Linked DNA regions of Homo sapiens: all the other regions are linked to region 1. The links are contacts of gene promoters, found by promoter capture Hi-C in human tissues and cell types (Jung and others, 2019). All regions are on one chromosome and are shown on one strand. Each heading gives the region's core, a stretch centred on a gene start or on the middle of the fragment in contact. The rest is flanking DNA. Distances are from core to core; before and after follow the strand shown.

Evidence for each region. The method cuts DNA at HindIII sites, captures the fragments that hold promoters and counts their contacts. A contact is called where the count stands out against the background at its distance.
Region 2: a contact is called between a fragment that was not itself captured here and the fragment with the promoter of DONSON in region 1, in 1 of the 25 tissues and cell types used here (dorsolateral prefrontal cortex).
Region 3: a contact is called between a fragment that was not itself captured here and the fragment with the promoter of DONSON in region 1, in 2 of the 25 tissues and cell types used here (dorsolateral prefrontal cortex and spleen).
Region 4: a fragment that was not itself captured here is called in contact with the fragment with the promoter of DONSON in region 1 in 2 of the 25 tissues and cell types used here (lymphoblastoid cells and spleen).
Region 5: a fragment that was not itself captured here is called in contact with the fragment with the promoter of DONSON in region 1 in 1 of the 25 tissues and cell types used here (hippocampus).
Region 6: a fragment that was not itself captured here is called in contact with the fragment with the promoter of DONSON in region 1 in 2 of the 25 tissues and cell types used here (dorsolateral prefrontal cortex and spleen).
Region 7: a contact is called between a fragment that was not itself captured here and the fragment with the promoter of DONSON in region 1, in 2 of the 25 tissues and cell types used here (dorsolateral prefrontal cortex and spleen).

What each region holds. Positions count from the first base shown.
Region 1 is chr21:33,587,325-33,590,060 of GRCh38, forward strand. DONSON (DNA replication fork stabilization factor DONSON) reads right to left here and starts at 1,360. Exons shown (of 10, transcript NM_017613.4): 1 at 997-1,360; 2 at 198-278. The coding sequence starts at 1,317. CRYZL1 (crystallin zeta like 1) reads right to left here. Exons shown (of 13, transcript NM_145858.3): 13 at 2,017-2,597. The coding sequence ends at 2,498. RefSeq lists a silencer at 901-1,590 and an enhancer at 1,049-1,548. The HindIII fragment of the contact is 19,336 bases long and covers 1-2,736 here.
Region 2 is chr21:32,605,116-32,607,851 of GRCh38, forward strand. CFAP298-TCP10L (CFAP298-TCP10L readthrough) reads right to left here. Exons shown (of 12, transcript NR_146639.2): 3 at 2,534-2,601. It overlaps CFAP298 (cilia and flagella associated protein 298), which reads right to left. Exons shown (of 7, transcript NM_021254.4): 3 at 2,534-2,601. Among named protein-coding and RNA genes, the nearest start is that of CFAP298, 5.9 kb to the right of the region's middle. The HindIII fragment of the contact is 4,387 bases long and covers 1-2,736 here.
Region 3 is chr21:32,659,278-32,662,013 of GRCh38, forward strand. The region is part of intron 18 of SYNJ1 (synaptojanin 1); the gene reads right to left. LOC124905011 (a long non-coding RNA gene) reads left to right here and starts at 1,951. Exons shown (of 2, transcript XR_007067845.1): 1 at 1,951-2,116; 2 at 2,222-2,736. RefSeq lists a silencer at 1,945-2,134. The HindIII fragment of the contact is 4,160 bases long and covers 1-2,736 here.
Region 4 is chr21:32,687,387-32,690,122 of GRCh38, forward strand. It overlaps SYNJ1 (synaptojanin 1), which reads right to left. Exons shown (of 33, transcript NM_203446.3): 7 at 920-981. Among named protein-coding and RNA genes, the nearest start is that of SYNJ1, 39 kb to the right of the region's middle. The HindIII fragment of the contact is 4,811 bases long and covers 1-2,736 here.
Region 5 is chr21:32,710,025-32,712,760 of GRCh38, forward strand. The region is part of intron 2 of SYNJ1 (synaptojanin 1); the gene reads right to left. Among named protein-coding and RNA genes, the nearest start is that of SYNJ1, 17 kb to the right of the region's middle. The HindIII fragment of the contact is 3,764 bases long and covers 1-2,736 here.
Region 6 is chr21:32,732,427-32,735,162 of GRCh38, forward strand. PAXBP1 (PAX3 and PAX7 binding protein 1) reads right to left here. Exons shown (of 18, transcript NM_016631.4): 18 at 1,473-2,641. The coding sequence ends at 2,524. PAXBP1-AS1 (PAXBP1 antisense RNA 1) reads left to right here. Exons shown (of 4, transcript NR_038879.1): 2 at 1,163-1,231. Among named protein-coding and RNA genes, the nearest start is that of PAXBP1-AS1, 5.7 kb to the left of the region's middle. The HindIII fragment of the contact is 7,980 bases long and covers 1-2,736 here.
Region 7 is chr21:32,750,143-32,752,878 of GRCh38, forward strand. PAXBP1 (PAX3 and PAX7 binding protein 1) reads right to left here. Exons shown (of 18, transcript NM_016631.4): 9 at 977-1,076; 10 at 775-890. LOC124905010 (a long non-coding RNA gene) reads left to right here and starts at 1,112. Exons shown (of 2, transcript XR_007067844.1): 1 at 1,112-1,210; 2 at 1,974-2,736. The HindIII fragment of the contact is 4,263 bases long and covers 1-2,736 here.

The sequences.
Region 1 (2,736 bases), core at 110-2,609:
CTGTATCAAACCAACTCCTTTACCTTGGCTGATGCGGTATTTTCATCCCTGGTTGAGATGATCAAGCCTCTCTGTAAAACTACTTTCCAAGCAAAATGCTTCTGAGAAGTATAAATGTATTTTTAAAAATAGGCTCAAATCCTATGAAAAAAAAGTTTATACAAATACACATTCTAATGATATTTAAAAAGTATTACCTGAGGTAATTCAGTAACAGTTGTTCTTTCAGGAAACTTCTCTTCCCATAGCAAATCATTTTCTTGATTAGAATCTAAAAACTGAGGTTAAATATATTCTCCTTTAAAATTTAAAGGATGCTGAAGTTTGCGTTAAATATGTACAGAGCCTCACCTGGCATACATGTTTCTCAATAAACGCAAGTACACCTAAATTCAGAGGCACCCCATCCAATCTATGAGTTTCAACACTTCAGTTTTGTGTCTGAACTTTAGTATCAAAATTGAGGGGAACAGGGACCGGCGTTTCAAACCGAAAGATCCAAAAGGCTTTGGGTAAGACAGATGCTAGTGAATTCTGACCCCACGAATCCTCGACATTCCCCCATCTCCAGAATAATTTGGAGTGCGTGAGAGAAGGGAGGCCCTAAATCACGGGGGAAGCAGGGCTTGTCACCTGCCCCATCGAACAGCGTCCTTGCAAGATGGGGGCTCTCAGGGTTTTTCGAGCTCTTTTCCAAGTCACCTCTAAGTCCTCTCCAAGGGGCTCCTCGCTGCCCTCTGGGGCCCCCTCACTTTCCTCGGGAACGCGTCCCGTGAGCACAGCCCGCAGCGGGGTAGCCAGGGGAGCGCTCTTCCCACAAACCCGGCCTTGCCAGAATCGCGGCTCCCAGGGCGGGGTACCCTAAGGCCACGGGCGGCCGAAGTCTTCGCGCCCATTTCCTTGCCTCGAACGCGAGGACTTTCCATCCCCCATTCACAGCTGGCTCAACCCACGAAAGACAAGAGCCCCTTGGCGGCCAGGCTACAAGACACTCACCGGGACCGGGGCCTCCGGCTGCTCGCGGGCCGGCCCGTCGGGGGGCTCCGCGGCGACCCGCGGTCGGTTGTCCAGGCGGGCGAAGGGGTTCCTCCGAGCAGCGGCCGGGCCGCCGCCGCTGCCACCGCCTCTGCCCCCCGCAGCAGGGAAAGGGCGAAGAGGCAGCCCCGCCACCAGGGCGGCTCGGCGGGCCGCCGGCTCCGTCAGCTCACGGGGCGGGGAGGCGGCAGCTCCACGGCTCCGGGCCCTTTTCCGTCGGAGCCGCACTACCTCGGGCGGCTTTCGGAAGCCCGGTGAGTAGCCGGGCACCGAAAGGGCCATGACGCGCGGCGGCTGAGGGTAGCCGGCCGCCCTACAGAGACTTCCCGCGCGCGCCGGGCCCGCCCCTGACGTGGCGCCTCGCCGAGCTCCCGCCCCCGACGCGGCCCCGCCTCCGCCCCCGCCGGTTCCGAGCGGAGCATGCGCAGTGGGCAGCCCGCGAGACGCAGCCCGCAGCGGCGATCCCGGGTGGCCGTCAACGCCCACTGTCCCAGCGGTGACCCTGCCCTGGCGCTTCTGCCAGGTCCTCGGCCAGAGTCCAGTCGCCAGGTTCAGCGACGCTTCTGGAAAGTATGCGATCCAGGGCGCTGATGTGCACTACCCTGTGGGGCACCGAAATAGCTTAACTCTATTTAAGCCCGCAGCAGGGATGTGATCAGCCCGGGGTTTGGCGCCTGGATGAAAAGGAAACAAACTTGAGCTGCGGCGATGGGCTGCTGCTTCCATAAACTTAAGAGAGGGCAGTGGCTACTGCTCTCAAGAGGCGAGGAGAGGGGACTAGGCCACCTTCCTCAACCCCCAGAGAACTCAGATAAGACGTCAGCACGCTTCCTATGCCAGCGCAGCCTACCGACATCCCTCCCTTCCCCGTTCCCAGTGCCTGGTCATCTCAGACTTCCAGGCAGCTGCCACTGGCAAGTTAATGGGATCTTCTTTGATCCTGGGGAAAGCCGGAGTGAATGAATAGTTGAAAACACAAAATTTAAGTGCCTATGGGCTAAGTCTTTTAAGACTTCAAAATATACTCAAATGCTTAAATTATGACAGCAAAGACTTAAGGAAGGTGTTGAGAACGGAGTTGATACAAAATTAATACGTTACTTTGATAGCTTAGCAAAGGCCTGCAACAGCTTTTATCAAGAGTAGTGTGACTTTTGCTGAAAGCAGCAGTTTTCTTCATGGAAGGAATTTTATAGCAGGGGCAAAATATATAGAAACAATGAAAAGGTTTTTAGAAAAATTCCCTTAAGATGTTAATTATAGAATTATCTTGATCATTTGCACAAGAATTTTTCAAACACTTTTCAAATGTGTCAACTGAGCATCTTGTCTTAGCAGAGAAACGTGCTTAAAAATGCAACTTGTTTTATCTTCCTTGGTTTTTCTCAACAATTTCCAAAGAAAATTCTGGCTTCAAATACTGGAATATGTTCATCCGACTGAGGTCTGAGAAAGAAGAAAATTAAAATTGAACAACTTGCTTTTTTCTTCCTTGATTTTTCTGAACAGCTTCCATGGAAACTTTTGCCTCATACAGTGGAATGGGTTCATCCAACTGAGGTCTGAGAAGGAATGAAATTAGAAATGTCAGGTCTAGTTAAAGATAAGTAGAACAAACAGGGTGGTATATGACAAATGCTAGTGCTCAAATCTATTAGTGTATTAATTAATTTTTTGAGACAGAGTCTGGCTCTCTCATCC
Region 2 (2,736 bases), core at 237-2,736, 980 kb before region 1:
TTGGAGTAAGCCAAAATCGTGCCACTGCACTCCAGCTTGGGCAACAGAATAAGACTCTGCCTCAAAAAAAAGAACAGACCTAGTTGGAGGGAGACCAGGTAGCAGGCTCTGAAGAGTACAGAGGAAGGTGTGATGAAATAACAAATATATCTGGTCTTTGCTACTCAGTTCCAGGCACAGAGCTCCAAAACTCTTGGAATTTCCTGAGTGACAGGAGTGTCTTGTTATTTATAACGAGCCCCTTCTCACCATACCTGAGCTTGTGCTAATACAGTAACCTGTAGTCCGCGCTGGGTTTCAAGGAAGGGGCTGGCCGTGCCTGGGAGACCAAGCACATAATTAGAGGGTTGGAGCTTTCGGCCTCACTCCCTTCCTCCACCTCCAGGCGCTAGAGGTTGGGATCAAACACGTGGCCAGTGGTTTAAGCCATCATGCCTACTGAACAAAAACGCTATAAAAATCCCAGACATCATGGCTCAGTGAAGCTTCCTGATTGGTGAAGACGTTGATGTGCCGGGTGACACACATCAGTGGGGGCGTTGTGGGAAGCTCCAAATTTGTAGTCAAGCTGGACACAAGTATGGGTGGCCTGGGGACCTCACGTGCAGCTGGTGTCTGAAATAAGAGGAGTCTTGTTGGTGATCTCACCCTTTAACTTTTAGGTCTGATGCTAACTCCAGGCAGTTAGTGTCAGAATTGAAGGATCTGCCCTTGACCTGTGGGGTCTGTGCTGTCTCTGAGTAGTTAGTGTCAGAACGGAATTGAATTGACTGGCAGGACCCCCAGTGGGCATCAGAATGCAAAAGGCTACAGGAGAGCCTTAAAGAAAGCCACAGCTGTGGAAGTGAAAGGAAGAGGTGGACTTAAGAGGCATCATGGGAGCAGACGGTACAGAACCCCACTTCAAACCTAGAGGTGACAGAAGGGAGAAGTGTTGAAGATGACACTGAGGATTTGCCCTATAAAACCAAGACACTGTGGTTCTGTTACTGGAAACAGAGAAGCTCATAGGAGGTGCTGATTCTCAGGGACAGAACAGAGAGGGAGAGGAGTGAGGAAGCAAAGAGCTCATTTCTAGAAAACTGGACTTCAAAGTGCTGACTGGGTGTTCAGATAGAACCATCTCACAACCAGCTGGAAATTCAGGTTGGAAGTGAAGCAAGATGTCAGGGGGAAAGGATGGAAGCTTCAGAGTTATCTGCAGAGGGTGGAATTTGCATTTGGCAGAGTAGATAAGATACTGAGAGAGGAAGAAGACCAAGGATAAAAAGTACTTTCAGAAGTACACAGGCAAAGGGGAGAAGTGAGGCGACCGAGAGAGGAGTTCCACAGCAAAGTGTGGGGAGAAGGGTGCAGAACAACAGCCAGACCACTGTTTTCTTGCCATGGCCTGAGACGTGCTCACATGCCTAGATGCCATCACCACGCAAACGACGGGCTCAACCAGGGCCTCTCCTGTAGAGCTTCATAAAGCCTTTCCTATATTAACAGGCACAGAGCTTCAGGGCAGCCTTTGCTGAGGCTCTTCAAAGATTAGTCAAAAGCTTGGTAAGTTTGAGAAATATTGGTTTAAAAATAACAGTTCTGCTGAGCAAACCAGGAGAAGCAGAAGAAAAAGTGGTGATCAGTCAAGAGACTTGCAGTTGAGAGCGGTAGCAACTAATATCACCAACACACAAATACAAGCAACAGATACAGATACCACTTCTTTCAATAGCCTTAAATTCTCTTCCTCCAGATACACATTATCTGTATATCAATGGTATAAATTTACGCTCCTCCCTCTATAAACTAGCCTTTGTATAAAATGCTGAAGACAATTACAAAAAACCATTTATATCAAATACATATTAAGTCAATCAAGTGTCTGGAGAGCTACTCGATGGCCACAATATTCAAATCTCCCCTACTTAACTTTGTTAAGTTCTTCAAAAAGGTAAAAGAAATGAAATCAACATTTGTATTATACATATTTGTATTATACGTGAACCTATATTTACATAAGCCAACAAAAATTTGTGTCTGCCTGGAGGAACGGAGAGGCCTCTGGGCAACCGTCAGGATTATGAAAGGAAAAGCTACAGCCTACCCCAAATACGCTTGTTTCCTTTGCCTCCGGAAGGCTGAAAGAGAAGGCTGGCTGAGAGGCAACTCTGGAAGCCAGAGTTGGAGTTTTATCTCAAAAGACAAGTTTTAGGCCGGGCGCGGTGGCTCATGCCTGTAATCCCAGCACTTTGGGAGGCCAAGACAGGCGGATCACCTGAGGTCAGGAGTTCGAGACCAGCCTGACCAACATGGAGAAACCCCGTCTCTACTAAAAATACAAAATTAGCTCGGCATGGTGGTGCATGCCTGTAATCCCAGCTACTCGGGAGGCTGAGGCAGGAGAATTGCTTGAACCCAGGAGGTGGAGGTTGTGGTGAGCCGAGATCGCACCATTGCACTCCAGCCTGGGCAACAAAAGCAAAATTCCATCTCCAAAAAAAAAAAAAAAAACCCAACAAGTTTTAGTGCATCATTTAAAAAAGCCAACCTTAGATATTATTGCTTTGGCTTCTTCTATAGTCTTCTTTAACACTTGCTTCATCTTCTCATTTGGAGCTATAAAAATAAAAAGGAGAGAGGGAGAAAGAGCTGTCAAATACAAAGCCTCTTCTGAAATACCTCAATCCCCTCTGTCTGAGTCAGGGGGTAAATGAACTGAGAGAGAGTGCGAGTGTGGAATTTAGGGAAGAG
Region 3 (2,736 bases), core at 139-2,638, 930 kb before region 1:
CTTCTATTTGAAAGTGAATCTTATAGATACATAATATATTTTTCTTTATGGGAATTATTATGGGTTTTCTCTTTCCTATTTTTATTACTTTTAAGGGAGGACACCACCCCACATATTGTCTTATGCCCAATTTCTGCCTCCAAAGAAAGAAGAAGTAAAAACTAAAAGGCAGAAATGGAAGCCACAAGCAGATAGCCCAGCACTGCGCCCTGGGCCTGGTGGTTAAAAATCAACCCCTGACCTAACTGTTTGTGTTACCTATAGATTTCAGGCCTGTATGGAAAAGCATCATGAAAATCCCTGTCCTGTTCTGTTCTGATTACTGGTGCATGCAGCCCCCAGTCACATACCCCCTGCTTGCTCAATTGATCATGACCCTATCACGCGGACCCCCTTGGAGTTGTAAGCCCTTAAAAGGGACAGGAATTGCTCACTCGGGGAGCTCAGTTTTTGGAGACGCAAGTCTGCCGATGCTCCCAGCTGAATAAAGCCCTTTCCTTCTACAACTCGGTGTCTGAGGGGTTCTTGTCTGAGGCTCGTCCTGCTACATTTCTTGGTTCCCCGACCGGGAAGTGAGGTGATTAACGGATGGTCAAGGCAGCCCCTTAGGTGGCTTAGGCCTGCCCTGTGGCACATCCCTGTGGGGGACTCCGGCCAGCTTGAGCAATGCGGATCCTGAGAGCACTTCCGGGTAGGTAATTGCCCCGGTCGAACGCCTCACCACAGCAGCGCATGGCAGGCCCCCATGAGTTAAAGGAAAAACTTATGTTGGCCCCAGCCCTAGGACTACCAGATTTGACAAACCCCTTTACACTCTATGTGTCAGAAAGATAAAAAATGGCAGTTGGAGTTTTAACCCAGACTGTGCGGCTCTGGCCAAGGCCAGTGGCCTATCTCTCAAAACAACTAGATGGGGTTTCCAAAGGCTGGCCCCCATGTCTAAGGGCCCTGGCAGCAATGGCCCTGTTAGCACAAGAAGCAGATAAACTAACCCTTGGGCAAAACCTGAATATAAAGGCCTTCCATACTGTGGTAACTTTGATGAATACCAAAGGACATCATTGGCTAACAAATGCTAGATTAACCAAGTACCAAAGCTTGCTATGTGAAAATCCCCGCATAATCACTGACGTCTGTAACACCCTAAATCCCGCCACCCTGCTCCCAGTATCAGAGAGCCTGGTCAAGCATAACTGTGTAGACATGTTGGACTCAGTTTATTCTAGCAGACCTGACCTTCGGGACCAGCCATGGGCATCAGCAGACTGGGAGTTATACATGGACGGGAGCAACTTCATCAATCCACATGGAGAAAGATGTGCAGGATATGCGGTGGTAACTTTGAACGCTGTCATTGAAGCCAAACCATTGCCACAGGGCACTTCAGCCCAGAAGGCTGAGCTCATTGCTTTAACTCGGGCTCTAGAACTCAGTGAAGGTAAGACTGTAAACATCTACACTGACTCTTGATATGCCTTTCTAACCCTCCAAGTGCATGGAGCATTATATAAGGAAAAGGGCCTGTTAAACTCTAGGGGAAAGGACATAAAATATCAACAAGAAATTCTACAATTATTAGAGGCAGTGTGGAAACCTCAGAAGGTGGCAGTCATGCACTGCAGGGGACACCAGCGAGCCTCCACCTCAGTGGCCTTAGGAAACTCCCAAACTGACTCAGAAGCTCGAAAAGCAGCATCTACCCCTTACTGTGCATCAGTAGCAGCCCCCTTACTCCCTCAAACACCTGACCTGGTACCTACCTATTCTAAGGAAGAAAAAGACTTTTTCCACACAGAAGTGGGGCAAGTAATAAAAGAAGGATGGATCAGACTGCCAGATGGGAAGGTAGCTGTGCCACAGTTGCTGAGAGCCACAGTCGTACTGGCCATGCATGAAACCACTCTTCTAGGTCAAGAGTCACTTGAAAAGTTGTTAGGCCGGTACTTCTACATCTCACACTTGCCAGCCCTTGCCAAAGCAGTAGCACAATGGTGTGTTACTTGCTGACAGCGCAATGTGAGGCAAGGCCCCACGGTTCCACCCAGCATACAAGCTTATGGAGCGGCTCCTTTTGAGGGTCTTCAGGTGGATTTCACAGAAATGCCAAAATGTGAAGGTAACAAGTATTTGCTGGTTCTTGTGTGTACTTACTCTGGGTGGGTGGAGGCTTATCCAACACAAACTGAAAAGGCCTACGAAGTAACCCGTGTGCTTCTCCGAGATCTTATTCCTAGGTTTGGACTGCCCTTACGAATTGGCTCACATAACGGGCCGGTGTTTGTGGCTGACTTGGTACAGAAGACAGCAAAGGCATTAGGAATCACTTGGAAACTACATGCCGCCTACTGACCTCAGAGTTCTGGAAAGGTGGAGCGAATGAATCAGACTATCAAAAATAGTTTAGGGAAAGTATGTCAGGAAACAGGATTAAAATGGATACAGGCCCTTCCTATGGTATTGTTTAAAATTAGATGCATCCCTTCTAACAGGATACTCCCCTTATGAAATACTGTATCATAGGCCTCCTCCTATACTAGGGGGACTTCCAGGCACTCCCCGAGAGTTAGGTGAAATTGAGTTACAGTGACAGCTACGGGCTTTGGGAAAAATTACACAAACAATCTCAACTTGGGTAAATGAGAGGTGTCCCGTCAGCTTATTCTCCCCAGTTCACCCTTTCTCTCCAAGTGATCGCATGTGGATCAAGGACTGGAACGTAGTCCCTTTGCGGCCACA
Region 4 (2,736 bases), core at 109-2,608, 900 kb before region 1:
GTAAGGGCAGATGGCAAAGGGCTGCTGCTCACATGTGAGGACATCACCTACTCCGTTGAGTATTCAGAGGGACCTCCTTACTAGCTCCAGTCTTCAGAAAAATGGGCCCCAAATACGAGTCTTTTCTCTTTCCAGCTTCTAACCATTCCAGAAACTATGTAGAGCAATGCCACACAAAGAAATGTAACATAAACCACACCTATAATGTTAAATTTTCAAGAAGGTGCATTTATAAACATGAAATTAATTATACTTTCTTTAACTCAACATGTCTAAAATATCATTTCAACATGTAATCAATATAAAACAACTACAGTTAACCTTTCAACAACACAGGTTTGAACTGTGCAAGTCCACTTATATATGGATTTTTTTCAACCAAAGAAGAATCAAAACTACAGTATTCCTGGCATGCAAAACCCATGAATATGAATGATGACTTTTCATAAGCATGGGTTCCACATGGCCGACTGTGGGACTTGAGTATGCACAGATTTTGGTATGTGAGGGTAGAACCAATACTCTGAGTATACCGAACATGATTTTACTAATGAGATACCTTACATTCTTTTTTATTTTTTAAGGCAGTCTTTGAAATCTAGTGTGCATTTTATACTTGCAGCACATCTCAACTGAGACTAGTCACATTTCAAGTGCCCAGTAGCTACATGTGGCTAGTGGCTGCTATACTGGACAATGCGCCCACAGAGGAAGTTTTAAGGTCAAGAGATCAAGACCCACACTTCCAGCACTACCACCCCCAGAAGTCGTAACACTAGGTGTCACTGTCTTTCAATTAAATTAGGAGTCAGAGGAATTTTATTTAAAGCCAAAAAAGTTTGAAGTGAATCAGTAAATACAAGCAGTCCCACTGCTTAGCAATATCAAAACTTAAAGCACTATGTAAAAATTGTCTTACCTGTCAAAAGCAGGTGCATTGGCTTCAAATCCCCTTGACATACGGACACGATGAGATCCCACCTTAGACAAGAAAAATATATTTAATCAAACCAAAAACCAACATATAGACGAAAGAAATATCACTGCTTACAATATCTAACAATTTCTTTGCTGAACACACAGTCGTTAATCAAATAACTGATTTCCATTCATGATATGCTTTTAAAAAAACAAGTTCCAGGGAATTTCCACCCTCCACCTTTATTTTTAAAAAACCAACCTCATCAAAAAAAGAAGTTACATCATTATGAAATACTCGTAAACTAGTAGGAATTTTTATTGATGAAAACTATTTTTAAAGGTGTTTTCATATATGGTACTTTGTTTTAAGTTCAAACTACATGCCCTGTGTAACAGATACTATTACCATTTGGGTAATTAAAAAAACCAAAATACCAACAGGTAAAATAACTTGCTATCTGAGATCAACATAACCAATTCCAAAAGAGATTCAGATGAGACTTTATGTCTCTGACCTAAATTCCTACTCCTCCAAGCTGCCTACCAATACAAATGTCTATGTGTTTTCTTCTCTACTATGTTGAATATTCTATTCACACCAAAGTTCCACCAAATTGAGAATATCATTCCTTCCTGGAAAAGCAGACTTTCCAAGTCAACCTTGCCATCACCCAATTATAGTATTTGCACATTTTGCAGAATCAGGAATTTTGGGTTAAGCAAATTAAACAAGATGGAAAATATCTACCTATTGTATATTGTTATAATTTTTCTTTTCTTACACAGGAGAATAGCAGAGAGATGAGGCATAATTGAGAAAGATATAACATGCCAAGAAGAAATATATAGGTGAGACCAGATTATTTCCCTGAACTTCAATTTAAACATTTCTCTCTGAGACGTTGGAATGAAGGTTGCCCAATCACAACAAGGATCACTGAGGGGGGGCAAAAAAGTTGCCCAAAATTCATTCTTGCTAACCTGTGAACAAAGTGCTTTTTTTTGTGGGGGACGGAGTCTCACTCTGTTGCCAGGCTGGAGTGCATTGGCGTGATCTCGGCTCACTGCAACCTCTGCCTCCCGGGTTCAGGCGATTCTCCTGCCTCAGCCTCCCGAGTGGCTGGGACTACAGGCGCCCGCCACCACGCCCAGCTAATTTTTGTATTTTTAGTAGAGACAGGGTTTCGCCATGTTGGCCAGGATGGTCTCAATCTCTTGACCTTGTGATCTGCCCGCCTCAGCCTCCCAAAGTGCTGGGATTACAGGCATGAGCCACCGCGCCCCGCGCAAAGTGCTTTTAAAGAGGGTGTAAAAGGGGGGTTGTCAAATCAGTCATGTAATTGGACAAGTAAAACCAGAAAATAAACTCTAATATGCTCATCCAATTCCAAAACTGAATTAACAGTACAGTATTATCATTCATTAAGCATTATCCCTCACTGCACTAAGTCAGATAATCTAATGAGTATTCTGATAACCAGGGGATTCTCTCTTTAATTTTTAAATAAGAAATCAATTAGCCTAATGTCACATCTGTGTTCAATTTCATTTTATGGTACTTAATAATATTCATAAAAGTTTAAAATTTGAAAGACGTATGTCCCAGGACATTAAGCATTTTAGACTGCAGAAAACTCACAAGTTGATACTTTTTCTTTGGAGTAATCCCAGATTAATTGCCTATCACTCCATACAAGTTCAAAACTTAGCATTTTTGTTTACTGATTAACATTTATTTTGCATAGTACTGCAACGGTGCATAAGGTGAAAAAAATCCAGTTTTCATGTCTTCCAGGTAATGCCTATGGTTGTTTT
Region 5 (2,736 bases), core at 95-2,594, 880 kb before region 1:
ACCCATCTCTACTACAAAAAATACAAAAATTAGCCGGGCATGGTTGCAGACACCTGTAATCCCAGCTACTTGGAAGGCTAAGGCATAAAAGCTCGAACCCAGGAGGTTGAGGTTGCAGTGAGCCGAGATTACATCATTGTACTCCAGCCTGAGTGACAGAACAAGATGCCTTCTCAAAATAAATAAATAAAAACATAAATAAATAAATAAATAAGGAGGGAGAGATAGTAGGTAGAAATATAGAAAAACAAAAGTGTCCATGAGTTGATATTATGGAGGCTAGGTGACATATGTAACAGTTACACTATTTCTCCAAATAAAATGTTAAAAAAATTATTACATTCTTTGAACTATTGGATAAATTCAGAAAGGAGAGAGATAACTCTGGCCAATTATCTTGAGACAGCCAGAAGCTACTGGAATTCTAAGGGATCAGAGAAGAACTTTTCTCTAATTACCCTAGACCAGGAGTGCATTAGCCAAAAGTTTAACAGACATTTGAACTTTTTTTTTTTTCCCAAACAGGATCTCTCACTCTCACCCAAGCCTGAGTGCAGTGGCATGATCATAGCTCACTGTAACCTGAAACCCCTGGGCTCAAGCGATTCTCCCGCCTCAACCTCCCAAAGTGCTGGGATTATAAGTGTGAGCCATTGCACCTGATTGATTTGGACTTTTATAAACTTCAAAGGGACTTGTAAGTCCTACAATCTTTAGAATGGCCCCATAGCCCACACTTCCCAAGGCTCTCAAACACTCATCAAATAGTAAATATATAATAAATTAAGAAAGGAAAAGATTTAGTAATTCCAGAATGGAGGCCTTAGGAAGGGTAAATATTGTTATACCCTGCCATCAATGTTTTCCTTATATTCTTCCTAAATAATTTAGTTTTAATATTCTAACTGTTGAAATGGAAACTATACTTGGAAAATAATAAGTTTGTTTTTGCTCATTATCACAGAAGTTAGGAAATATTTAAAACTATATAAAGCCATGAGGTAGTAATATCCTACAACTTAATTCAGATAACTCAACTCCTTCCTTATTTTAGTTTTGTGCATGTTTTCAAACTTCTTTTAACTGAACAAATTCATGCATGACTGAAGGGAGCCCCAACCTACAACTTTTCCTCGTTAAGCTACTGGAAGGTGACAAAAATAGAAACGGTAGAGGTGGTCTATTTATAGACTACAGAAAACACTCAGAGTATAAATATATCAATTGTTCTCTATCAAAATTTAACATATCAATTGTGCTCTATCATATTATTTGACATCCTCCACCTTTTTCTTTTTTCTGGAGTGACTTACTTTTTTTTTTTTTTGAGATGGAGTCTCGTTCTGTCGCCAGGCTGGAGTGCAGTGGTGTGATCTTGGCTCACTGCAACCTCCACCTCCTGTGTTCAAGCGATTCTTCTGCCTCAGCCTCCAGAGTAGCTGGGACTACAGGCGCGCGCCACCATGCCCAGCTAATTTTTGTATTTTTAGTAGAAACGGGTTTCACCATGTTGGCCAGGATGGTCTCGATCTCTTGACCTCATGATCTGCCCACCTCAGCCTCCCAGAGTGCTGGGATTACAGGTGTGAGCCACCGCGCCCAGCAATGACTTATAATACTATGTCATGTGACATAACTGGCATTATTCAGCATTGTTGTATTACAACCTCGTTTCTCAAATTAGAATTTAAGGCAAATAATGAAGTATTAGGATCAAATATAAAAATTCAGATGAAGACATAATCATATACCTATTTCTTGATTTTCATGAGTTGTGGCTCTAAAAGAGAGGCTTGTTAAACATAACATAGTTGTCGCATGATAATCACACCTGCATTGCTAACTCCACATCTGAACAGAAAAGAAACAAAATTAACTTCTTATCCAAGAGCAATAGGTAACTTAAATGTCACTTTCATTTTACTTTAAAAGTATTTTCAGGATTAAATTTAAATGTAAATTTCTCCAACTTCTGATGGATTATAATAATTTAAGCTAAATAATAAAGCCATCCAAATGAAGGGCCTACTATCCAATGTCAACATTCTGCTGTGGGTCAAACCTTGCAGTCTGAGAATACACTGTTCTTCCCCAGCTGATACAGAAGACTAAGCTAAAGAAGGTCAATAACAATGTAAAAATAAGACTGCATGTTAGAATGATCTCTCTAGAACCACAATTTGCCTGTGGTTGCATGCACTGCAGTTTGTGGTGAGCTTATTTGCATGCAGACAGCACTTTGGTATAGAACCAGAGAACCTCCTGTATGAGGATCCTAGAGATCATGTAATCCAAGCTTCTCATTTTCAGAAGAAAAAGAGTAGAGATTAGATCATTCATCCAAGATCACATAACTAGCTGGCAGTAAAGCTTCTTTCCATTTCATCATATATAAAGAGAAAAATTATTTTAAAAGGAAAAGGTTTCTCTTACAAAAGTAATTAAAATTCCAGCTGAAAGATATTAAACTATCTAAATTAATGTCCTATTTAAACTTCACATTCCAATCTTGGTGACATTTAAGGAAAAAAAAAAAACTTTCATTCACGCAAGAAGTATTTATTGAATGCCTACCATGCACCAGGCCCCTGGCAAGGTTCTAGGAATAAAAACAGTCAGTACCGTGACACCTTCTTAGGAATCAGATTAGGAAGACAGGAATTATATAACCATACAAATGCAAAATTATAAATTATAGTAAGTACTATAATGGAGTTCTAACAGATTACAATGGGA
Region 6 (2,736 bases), core at 102-2,601, 850 kb before region 1:
CTGGTTGTACCTGTCAGAGCTGCCAGTTGGCCCTGCTGAAACTTTAGAACTGCACCAATGTCTAAGACTTTCATCCTCCTTCCTTCACACAGGTGAGACCTGCCTGCCTCATTGTCTGACAGCTTTCCCAGCCTCCTCCAGGCTCCCCTCCGTTTTCTCTTATACGCATTCCCCCAATAAACTTCCTGTACATTTAATACCATCTCAGTGTCTGCTCCCAGGAGGACCCTAACTGACACACTGGGGCATTTAGCCTCCAATTCCTTTTCTCCCTTGGCTGAGATCTGTTCCAGGAAGTATCTCCAGGACACTCCAGCCTGTTGCACAGGCCAAAGAAAAGCCCTCAGGCAGAGGAGCAAATACTTGCAAGAGGACACCAGTGGCAAGAACAGGGACATGGTGAGACTTCGACATCATTGGCTACAGTAGTACTAGTCACTCTTGACTGTGGTTTATGTTGTTTCAATAAAGTAGCTTTCCTTCTCAAAAACATTTGTCACCTATTTTGGAGTTAATTCAGAGGATTGCTCCAAAAGAAAAAACTGAAAAGCAAAACCAGCTTTATTAAAATGTAACCCTCTGGATTTATCTTTTGATAATTCCTTTCATAAGAAATAATGTCCTTAAGCTATTTCAGGAATAAAAATGTTCTGCTTGGGATAGAAAAACCATTGTTTTATGTACCCTACATCAAATTCCTAGTGTGATGTTCAAACCCATTCCTGAAACCAATATAGCCTGACAGATTTCATAGGATAAAAACTCTATTTTAAGAGTTCTTAAAAGCAGAGTAATTAGTCTAATGGGTTTGGAAATAATATGCAGTTTAAGGCCTAAATGATCTGTATGTGATACAGATACATGTTTTATGTTTTATTCTACTTAAGATGAGGAATAGGTGTTCTGACTTTAATTCTACTTAGTAGGCCAGTAAGGTGTAATGAAAAATTCATCCAGAATGAATACTGATTTGGTTTGGTTCTGTGTCCCCACCCAAATCTCACCTTGAATTGTAATAATCCCCACATCAAGGGCGGGACCAGGTGGAGATAACTGAATCATGGGGGGTGGTTTCCGCCATGCTGTTCTCCTGAGTTCTCATGAAATCTCATGGCTTCATAAGGGACTTCCCCCTTCCCTCAGCACTCATTTCTCTCTGCAGCCACCCTGTGAAGACGTGCCTTTCGTCAAGATTGTAAGTTTCCTGAGGCCTTCCCACCCATGCGGAACTGTGAGTCAATTAAACCTCTTTATAAATTACCTAGTCTCAAGTATGTCCCTATAACAGCGTGAGAATGAACTAATACAAATATGTAGGGATAAGATAAAATTAACAGAGCAAATACAGTGCATGACACTGTTCTGCATATTATGTCCTGATCAAGGGTACACATGGGCCTGCTCACAGTCCCACTTTATTAGAGTCATTTGAAATGCTGCAAATTTAGTCGTCAGGAAAATACAACAAAGGATATATTTAAAAATTAATTTAATGCTTGGCTAAATCTTAATTACATATATAATTATCAAACGATAGTCCTTAATTTCCAAAAAAATTCCTCTTTTGAAAATCACAGAATCAGAAAGCATAAACTTTAAAACAAGTTCTCTGAATATTTACAATGTGGTATAAACATTATAGAAGACCATGGATATTAAATTGCCTGGGTGTGGCTAATCAGCAAGGCGTATTCTTTATTGCATATTTAACTCACATATGTGGGATTTTAAATATGACAGACTACTAAAATTCAAATGCATGTATCTGCAAGCTGGGCAGGGAGTAAAATCATGAATGAGACAGGACGGTCAGCCCAAAACCATGCAATTAGGTTGTGGGTTTATTATTTTCAAAAGTGAAATTTCTATGTTCCATTTGAAACTATGTTGCATATTCATTTAGCATTCACATTAAACCCACATTTGACTCTAACGCTGATTCAAGGAAGAAAGTTCAACATTCACTCAATGACTAAGTCCACAACTCAACTCTCAATGTTAAGGCAGCACAGCTACAGTGATAGCAACGCTAACCAAAAGGTAATGAACATTTAGTCACTTGCCAGCCCTTTTGTTACAACAGTGTAGTAATTTCCCTAAGACAATTTGCTACCGGATAATTTTCTGCTGTTAAAAGGCTTCCTCTGTGGAAAAACACCACAAATTTCCAGTGTGAAAGTAAGTCCATGGTGGTATAAATATATATATGCATAATTACACAATTTACACTGCACACATCGTTTACAGGGGACAATTAACTGAGAGGGTTAATTTAAATGACCATACAAAATACTTCAGTAAACAAAGTATGACAGGCAGTAAAGAAAACATTCATAGACTCCTAGAAATAATCTGAATTCCTTTCATTCTGAAGAAATATCATTTAAGGACACAGTATTGAATATAATGTTTTTTGTATTAAAACAAGAATTGCTATTTTACAGTTTAAGAAACTTTACATATATACAAAATTTACACATTGGGAATGGTAATCAAGCAAATAGGTTTTTCAGTCTCATAGATCTATTTTCCTTCGATCAAAGACTTAAATTCTTTCACATTGTGGTCACTTGCAACAGACATAGCATGATCCAAAGCTCGAACACTTGCAAGGAGTTTTACTATCTGTTTTATGTTTTCCCTAAAAGAAAAAAATATAGCAGCATCTCATTAATTAGTATATCTAAGAGAAAATTTGCTACTGATTTCATGGCTATTTTAGAGCTTCTGCAATCA
Region 7 (2,736 bases), core at 143-2,642, 840 kb before region 1:
ATACAGAAAAATATACTCATTTAGAGGAAACACACTCTGAAATTTTGGGGAGTGAAGAGCCATGAGGTCTGTAAGTTACTTTCAAATGGTTCAGCAAACACACACATCTCCTTGTATAAAGAGCCAGGCAAACTTGGTGAAATCATAAGCATTGTTATCTGAGTGATAGGTATGTGGATGATCACTGTGCTAGTCTTTCAAATTTTGTTTAGAAATGTTCACTGTAAAAAAAGTAAGAGAAAGAAGCTTCTCCAACTAAGTTCCAAATGGTGTGCAATTGATATAATTCCAAACAATTATAGCCAATGGTGGGAAATGAAGACTTTTATTTGGGATCCTTCTGAAAATGCCTGGCACATAATAGTACTAACCATTCCTCTAAGGTGAGATTACTTATGACTCCCCAAATCAAGAGTTTCCTTCAGGGCTGAGTGCTCTACTGCCAAGCTTTACCTTTCCAGACCAGACAGGCTGCAATGAGAGCTGCCCTCAAGGACCTGACACATTTCCAGTCACTTAAAATTCTACCATTTGGAACAGTAACAACATTTATTATGCAAATACTAAGTACACCCTATGAGAAGATGTTACCCCTATTTTTGAGAATTCATCATGATATTCACTAATAAAAAGGCATGCAAATTTCTGCAATTAAAAAAGAAGTGTCTGGTTCTAATGCAGAGACCATGAAGATTCAAATCATTTCATGGTAAAAACCATACCCAAGTAGAAACTAAACTGATGATGAGTCTTATTTCCAAATAAATGTCTAACCTTTTTCCAGATTGAAATTAGTAATATCTGTAGAAGTTTCTTCATCATCACTGGAAAGGCCTTCAAGGTGATCTGCCATCTTACCGGTTTGTTCTCTGGCTTGTCTACGACGAGTCCTAAATAATAAACATCAAGTTCCCAAACTAGATAACAGAGACTCCTCCCTTCCCAAACAAGCCAGAGCAAGGGTTTTGAGAATTACCTCCTGGCCTCCCGCTCTGCAATGCGACGTTTTGCATGCTCTTGATACAGTGCCCGATCGCGTCCAAAGGAGTCAAGATTTGGTGCCATCAGAGCTTTGTCTGCAAAACAACAACAGTTAAAATTAAAAGCCATCTTTCAACAATCTTGAGGAAAGAGTTTGCACAGAATAAGCCATTACGACAGACTGCTTGCTAATCTCAACGGCAAGATTCTGCAATAACTGGTAAACCAGGTAGGTTTTTGGTTTAGAACAAATTTCATTATTATTCTGCGTTCCCATTTTAAAAAGTAGAAAAATTAAAGAAGTGATTTCTTTTTAAGAGTTCAACAACCCTACAAATATGTAATTGGGCTTACTCACTATTTTTATGTCTAAGTAACAGGACAGCTATCAGGAATAGCTATCATGATGACCAAATAAATTAAAACTCTAAATTACCTGTGCAAAGGGAAAAATATTACATTTTTAAGGAGGAAGAACTTCAGCATCACATTGAATGACAGCAGGAAAACATAGGAAGACATAAGAAAACAGCTTTGTTGCAAGAGTTTAATAAATTTATTGTAATTTTGCTTTGTAGAAATTTGTTTTCTATCACTATTTTTAGAATAAGGCATCTGAAAACCGCATCTGAGCAGGACCAACTTCCGCCTTCTCAAATGCTAATCTTTCTCTTTCACAGCATAGTTTTATTTTATTTTTTTGGTCTTCGTATTTTCCATTTCTCAAAAAACATTCTAGGGTAATTTCCTAGCTTTAGCTTCCAATCCTATTTAAATTTATATTTCAGTTATCATATTTTTAGTTTTCAAGAGATAGTTCTTGTTCTTACAATATTCCTCTTCTACAGCATTCTATATACTCCTGTTGAGTAGGATACCTTCTATTATCTCCCTGGGGCTCCCAACTGTTTGAAAGTAATCTGTTTACAGAAAACTTGCATACTTGTACCAGCACTGTCTGTTTCCTCAGTCCCTTTGGTTCTGCTGCTCAGGTTGGTCCTTATGATCATCGTTAACTGCCTGTTCATATAGAAGAGCAAGACTGGAAGCTGTGTGTGTGGGCAGGAGCTGTCTAACAGAGGTGTCTCCGTCGGATCACTAGGTACTGAGCCAGTTCTTTTGTTGGGGATCCCCAGATTTTAGTGTTTCAGGGTCTTTATTTTGGACCTACTCTCTTTAATCAAAAAAGACTCCCCTAATCTCTTGCCTAGGTAAAAGAAGGGGTGGGGGAAACATCTGTCCACTATACTTCCCTCATTTCTACGTTTTAGTTCCACACTATGAAGATATGACAGTAAGGGGAGGCAAACAACCCAAACGACTGGGTGAGAGGGGAGGGAGGTGAGCACATGCAAGATGAAAGACATCCAAGTTAAGACTTGCATATTTTTTTACTTATCAATTGATATTTACTGATATCAACAGAGATGTGTCACCAAAATCAGCAACAGGAAAAACAAAACCAAAATTTAGCTCTTACTTCAGAATATCCTAATTATCAGACCTTACTATCTATCTATCTATTTATTTATTGAGACGGAGTCTTGCTCTTGTCGCCCAGAATGGAGTGCAATGGCACAACCTCAGTTCACTGCAACCTCCGCCGCCCAGGTTCAAGCGATTCTCCCGCCTCAGCCTCCTCCTGAGTAGCTGGGATTACAGGCACCCGCCACCAGCTAATTTTTGTATTTTTAGAGACGGGGTTTTGCCATGTTGGCCAAGCTGGTCTCAAACTCCGCCTCGGCCTCTCAAAGT